Linked DNA regions of Homo sapiens: region 2 is linked to region 1. The links are contacts of gene promoters, found by promoter capture Hi-C in human tissues and cell types (Jung and others, 2019). All regions are on one chromosome and are shown on one strand. Each heading gives the region's core, a stretch centred on a gene start or on the middle of the fragment in contact. The rest is flanking DNA. Distances are from core to core; before and after follow the strand shown.

Region 1 (3,379 bases), core at 880-3,379:
AGAAGTGTCATAGGTTCGCGTGTTTTTCACAACTGATTATGATGTCCATGATGACAGCGTGCACTAAGCGCTGTGTCCAACCAACCCTTTACCTGGCATTTTAGCCAGCAAGACCCGCTTGCATTGCAGTCGTTCACGGTGCTCGCTGGCACAATTTTAGAATGTTACATGAATACTCAGGCCTGACTAACCTTCCCCTCCAAAAAACAACAAAACAGAACAAGGCTAAGCCTTTACTACTCAGAGACACATCTGTAAGACCCCACAGGGACAAGAAAAGTAGCTGTGATCTAGGTCTGCACTAAAGCTGCCTTTCCTGGCACTCAGAAGTGCCCTTCCAGGCCTAACTGCAGAAGGGTGGCCTCAGCCTCCTCCTCCTCCTCCTTGGCTTCCTCCTCACGGATCTGCACCAGCAACTGAAAGAGGTTTGGGGCTGGCCCTTCCCCAGCCCCGGTAAGCCACAGCTGCCTTCGGATGGCCCCGCTGTGGTTGGCCCCGGCAATGACCTGCTCTAGGCGGGCCTGGTTCACATTATCTTTATCAATGGCCCCCTTCTCTACCACCTTCTGTAGCAGAGGCTCCAGACGAATGACATAAGCAGACAATTTTTCTCCCGGGTTCTGATAAGTGTTCAGAAATTTGATCTGGGCATCCCTAGAGCTCTCAACGCTCCCAAACACCTGCTCAAGCGCCTTCAGGCATTCGGCAGTGGTTATCGCGGGGTTGTTGGACTTAAGGATGCGAATAACATCAGCGGCGGGGCCTCTAAGACTCTCCATCAACCGCCGCCTCTTTTCTACATCGGACACCTGCCACTCCTCTAGGACCTCATTAGTGTGCTCCAGCCAGGGATCAAAGGTTTCCTCTCCAGGCCCTGGGATGTCCCTCCCCGAGAAAAGTGTCAGCCTCTTGTACCATATGGACTCAACAAGAGGCTGAATAACATTATCCAAAATATAGTTTAGCATCTCTGCTGGCATCTCTGGGCCCGGGGTCGGAGTAGGGTTCTGAAACCCAAGGACACGGGCAACATCTTGCACGGTCCACCCCTCTCTAGCTAGGAAGAGGTGCAATCTTTCTAAAAATTCAGCATCAGAAGTTGGGGGCTTAAATAACACTTTCCAGACCCCTCCTTTGCCCGGCATCTCCCTGGGGATCGCGGCGTAATCTACAGCGCCAGTGAGCTCTAATAAGGCTGCTTTCGCATTTTCTTCCCTCCAGAACATTCTCCCAAGCATTCGGTAGGAGACCTGGGGCATCGCAGCCTGGAGGGTCTCTTCGATTTCAGCCTCATCACAGTTCACTGGGATGCCCCAGACTAACAGAGCTCTCTGGGAGTTCACATCCATCCCCCGGCACCAGTCTTCCAACAGTGTCATCGCCATTTTCTCAACTATCAAGACGCCAAATTCTACCAACAGACTGTGGCTCACCGTGCTCCTGGCCTTAGAACAATACCAGACACTCCCACCAAGTAGGCCCGAGGGAGGCGACCTTCATGCAGTCACGATTAACAAAGACAGAGTCCTGATCTCGCCCTTCTCTGCCCCCACAGTCAGTCCGTAGGTGCACTCGGAGCCGAGCTCGGGGACGCTGAGGCAGTCACGCGGCCGTCGCCATCTTGCGTCTGGGTCTGGGTCCGGTCGGGTCCGCCGCCTGCAGCAGGGGCGTCGCGTCGTCGTGCAGCGGGCGAGGAGCGACGGCGGGCGGCGAAGGCAGGCGCGCTGGGCCGAGAGCCGCCGGGGTGTGGTCGCGGGGCGTGGCCGCCGGGCGCTCGCTGCGGCTCCTGGAGAGGATCGGGCGTTCGCGGTCGCAGCCTGGTCTTCCCGCGGGCGAGGAGCGGCCGTTTGGGAGACTAGCCAGAGGGAGAAACTGTGCCGAAGTCGCGGCGGCTGCGGGCCAGCGGAAAGCGGCTTCTTGGCGGGCGCGGGGACTCCTCTGGGCGGGCGGCGAGGACGGCCGAGGACCAGAAACGAAGGCAGCAGAGGAGCAGGAAAGTCGGAGAAGCGAGGCTGGAGACAGCAGAGGCGAGGGTGGGAAGGGGCGGCCGCGGCGGCCCGCAGCGGTTCAGGCGCTGCGCGGCTGCTCTGGCGTCCAGTCCTACCCGCAACCCGCCGCGACGTTACTGCTGCAGTGGAGGATGGGGCCAGCCGGCGAGCGGCGTCCGCCCCGCCCCGCCCCGTCCCGCCCCCGCGGCGGAGCTGCTCGGGCGTCTCCATGGCAACGGTGTCCCAGCCGGCGCGAGGCACGCCTGCTCCGGCGGCTCGCGGGGGTCGAGCGGTTGCCGTGGAGCCAGCGAGGGGCTCGGGCATTTGTTTCTCTGATGGCGCATTTCCTTTTTCATAATTTAGCATTTTAACAGTAAACAACTACTACTAAGCACCGTGTTTTAAAAATAATAACCCAATCCTGGAGTGGATTTAAGATGATATTGTTGGAAATGCATCCCTCATGGTGGACTTGTCTACTCGGGTTGCTCAGCCAGTCCACCCTGCACGTGAAAATACTCTCCTCAGAACCCTGGCTTCCCGTTGCCCCTGACCACACTGTGCACCCTGCATATTTCATCCCAATGAAGCCAAAATGTCGGAGTGCGCCATTTCTGTGTATTTGTGTGAGACACTGAGTTTAGACTTTTTCTTGTCTAAAATTTTGTAAAAATCTGTCTGTGTCTACTGAGTCATCTTTTAGCCAGGCAAACATTAGTGTATTATTTTCCTTTTCCTGGCTGGCATCATTGACAATAGGCTGCTAAAAGAGAATCCTTATGGTTCAAAAATGTCGAGTAATCTCCCTGCAAGCAAGACAAGGCGCACTTACATCAACCCCAGATGGTGAAAATCCCAAGAGAACAAAGCATTCAACTCTGAATTTTTAAAACCTTATTTAATAAAAGGTTTAAAGATACAGAAGAACATTCAAAAGTAAATAAGTTACATAGGTACATTACAATCACATCAGCAAGATTCTTTAGTGTATTAATTTTTTTCTTATAAAAAGCACACAAAAAATAAAATCTTCAGTCTCTATCACAACTGTACAGCAAAAGAGGTAATATTTATATATGTACACTATTTTAATATGTAACAGTCTTTTTAAAAAAGGATGCCACAGGCAGCAAACACACAAAAGGCAGTGTCTGATCATTTTTGTTTCAAAATAAAAGGAATATACTTATTTATATGCTATTAAAATATCTGTACAATAATTACAGACTGTCAAGGCTGTTCCTGTGCTCTGTCCCCTCCAACAAAGCCTTCAACTTAGAGACAAATGAGGAAAAAGTGAAACAGCTGCAAATTGTTAGAAGCAAATATTAACATAGCAAAATGTGGGGAGGACACAATTGTTTTATAAAAATATCCCTACTTCCTGTAAA
Region 2 (3,379 bases), core at 441-2,940, 660 kb before region 1:
CATGTGGGCCAGGCTGGTCTTGAACTCCTGAGCTCAAAGCAATCCACCTCCTCGGCCTCCCAAAGTGCTGGGATTAGAGGTGTGAGCCGCCATGCCTGGCCCTTGGCCTTTTTTTTTTTTTTTTTAAGACAGAGTTTCACTCTTGTTACCCAGGCTGGAGTGCAATGCTGTGATCTTGGCTCACCACACCCTCCACCTTCCAGGTTCAAGCGATTCTCCTGCCTCAACCTCCTGAGTAGCTGGGATTATAGGCATGCACCACCATGCTTGGCTAATTTTTTGTATTTTTAGTAGAGACGGGATTTCTCCATGTTGGTCAGGCTGGACTCAAACTCCTGACCTCTGGTGATCCGCTTGCCTCAGCCTCCCAAAGTGCTGGAATTACAGGTGTGAGCCACATTGCCCGGTCAATTTTTTTTTTTGACTAAGTCTCGCTGTGTCACCCAGGGTGGAGTGCAGTGGTGCCATCTTGGCTCACTGCAACCTCCGCCTCCTGGGTTCAGGCAATTCTCCTGCCTCAGCCTCCCAAATAGCTGGGACTACAGGTGAGTGCCACCACACCTGGCTAAGTTTTGTATTTTTAGTAGAGACAGGGTTTCTCCATGTTGGTCAGGCTGGTTTCAAACTCCTGATCTCAGGTGATCCACCCGCCTCAGCCTCCCAGAGCGCTGGGATTACAGGCGTGAGCCATCATGCCTGGCCTGCATTTTTAAATTTTAAGCTCACATTTGATATCAGAATCCTGAAGCCTAAATTAGGGATTCTTTTCTCCATGGGAACTATGTTTGCTTCTGTCAAGAGCCTAGGACTATTACTAACAAGGGAGCACTTTAACATCCTTTCAGAGTCCTGACTTAACTTGGTAAACTTCAGTTACTCCACCTTGCTGGGTAGTCCAGCCTTGATCTCTAGATTCTGTGTTAATGTGCTTCCTCTCTCTATCTTCTTCTCTCTATATACACATATATATTATATATATTCACATATATTATATATATAATGGCATTATATGTATTATATTTATATATTTTATGCCATTATATACTATATAATGGCATTGTATATATATATATATTTATGTATGTATATGTATTTATGTGTGTGTATATATATATATATATATATATATATATATATATAATGATGGCCATGCATACACACGCAAACACACACACACACACAAGCAATCCTCTCTCCTCATGATTGAGACTACAGGTGTGTGCTACTGTGCTGGGCTCCAGTTTCAATTTTTGAGAAGATCTGCTCAGTTCCAGCTAAACAACATTTTTCCTGGTATGCTGCTGTTTAGTTGGGTCAGATGTGGCCAATGAGAATAGGGTCCAGGCCAGGTGTGGTGGCTCATGCCTGTAATCCCAGCATTTTGGGAGGCTGTGGCAGGTGGATCACCTGAGGTCGGGAGTTGGAGACCGGCCTGGCTAACATGGAGAAACCCCACCTCTACTAAAAATACAAAATTAGCTCGGCATGGTGGCATGTGCCTGTAATCCCAGCTACTTGGGAAGCTATGCCAGGAGAATCGCTTGAACCTGGGAGGCGGAAGTTGCGGTGAGCCGAGATCATGCCATTGCATTCCAGCCTGGGCAATGAGAACAAAACTCCATCTCAAAAAAAAAAAAAAGAAAAAAAAAAGAATGGTGTCCAAATGCACACAGAATGTAATATCCAAATTAATTATCTACAGTTTCCTTAGCAAGGATTTGTAAGAAAAAAATAGAAGGAGGATAACTGGCATCGCAAATGAATGGCTTGGCTTGTTCTCTACAAGTGGTATATAAGTGTATCATTTAGAGTTCTTTCTGTGTAAGGAATAGAAAACTCAACTCAAACTGATTTCGGAAAAGTAATGTATTGGGTTACATACTGATAAGCCTAGAACAGCTGGCTTTAGGAGTAGCTGAGCCAGCCGGGCTCAGTGTAATCCTGGCTTTTGGGAGGCTGAGGTGGGAGAATCGCTGGAGCCTGGAAAGTTGAGGCTGCAGTGAGCCGTGATCATGCCACTGCACTCTAGCCGGGACAACAAAGGGAGACCCTATCTCAAATAACAACAGCAATAACAAACCAAAAAACAAACAAAATGAATGAATGAACCATTTTCTCAACTGATATTGTCAAAAATCTCTCACCCTGTCTTACTTCTGCTTTCTTCTGTGATTTCATTCTCATCCCCATCTATTCTAAGCTTAAATCCTCCTAAGCTTAAATTGAAAAAAAAAAATCAATTTAAATGAAAAATATAGAGACCCCTCCCCTTCTTTTTAGGATTATTCCTGAAAGGATGAAGCAGTATAATGTTCCAGAGCACGAACTCAGGAACCAGACTGGCTCACTTACTATTTTTGTAGCCTTTGATAGGTTAATTTTTGCAAGCCTTGGTTTCTTCATTTGTATCACAATAGTTCTTACTTCAGGGGGTTGTTATGAGGATTAAAGGAGTTGATATTTGCAAAATGCTTTAAACAGTGGCTAGTACCAAAAAAAAAAAAAAAAAAAAAAGGGAGGGGTGACTAAATCATCAGGTTTTGATTAGGTTGTAAGTTTACTCCTGTGTCCTAAGGGGGTCTGGTTAGAGTTGGGACTTCCTATCCAAAGTACATGGATCTGGAGTAGTGGAAGGATGGTTTCTTTTCTTTTTTTTTTTTTTAGACCGAGTTTTGCTCTTGTTGTCCAGGCTGGAGTGCAATGGCGCGATCTCGGCTCACTGCAACCTCTGCCTGCTGGGTTCAAGCGATTTTCCTGCCTCAGCCTCCTGAGCTGCTGGGATTACAGGTGCCTGCCACCACGCCCAGCTAATTTTTGTTATTTTTAGTAGAGACAGGGTTTCGCCATGTTGGCCAGGCTGGTCTCGAACTCCTGACCTCAGGTGATCCACCCGCCTCGGCCTCCTGAAGTGCTGGGATTACAGGTGTGAGCCACTGCACCTGGCTTTTTTTAGACAGAGTCTTGCTCTGTTGCCCAGGCTGGAGTGCAGTGGCGCAATCTCGCCTCACTGCAACCTCTGCCTCCCAGGTTCAAGCGATTCTCCTGCCTTGGCCTCCCAAGTAACTGGGACTACAGGCACACATCACCAAGCCCAGCTAATTTTTGTATTTTTAGTAGAGGCGGGGTTTCACCATGTTGGTCAGGCTGGTCTTGATCTCTTGACCTCGTGATCTGCCTGCCTCGGCCTCCCAAAGTGCTGGGATTACAGGCGTGAGCCACCGCACCCGGCCAAGATGGTTTCTTTTAAAAAATGTGGAGGGTTCATTACTAAAGGCAAGGGGAATGGATGCTGCATGAACATCAGCAACAAATTGTCTAAGGTAGGAAAGTTAGCAAATTGTTGCCTGAGGGCTCCCTTTATTACACAGTAAACACAAAT

The links. Contacts are between HindIII fragments. The study calls those that stand out against the background at their distance.
Region 2: a fragment that was not itself captured here is called in contact with the fragment with the promoter of PNMA1 in region 1 in 1 of the 25 tissues and cell types used here (dorsolateral prefrontal cortex).

The regions. Positions count from the first base shown.
Region 1 is chr14:73,712,255-73,715,633 of GRCh38, forward strand. It overlaps PNMA1 (PNMA family member 1), which reads right to left and starts at 2,130. Exons shown (of 1, transcript NM_006029.5): 1 at 1-2,130. The coding sequence starts at 1,385. The coding sequence ends at 324. MIDEAS (mitotic deacetylase associated SANT domain protein) reads right to left here. Exons shown (of 13, transcript NM_001367710.1): 13 at 2,868-3,379. RefSeq lists enhancers at 1,526-1,585, 2,526-2,595 and silencers at 1,676-1,845, 2,026-2,305. The HindIII fragment of the contact is 17,175 bases long and covers 1,762-3,379 here.
Region 2 is chr14:73,053,060-73,056,438 of GRCh38, forward strand. No RefSeq gene overlaps it. Among named protein-coding and RNA genes, the nearest start is that of RBM25, 3.8 kb to the right of the region's middle. The HindIII fragment of the contact is 3,860 bases long and covers 1-3,379 here.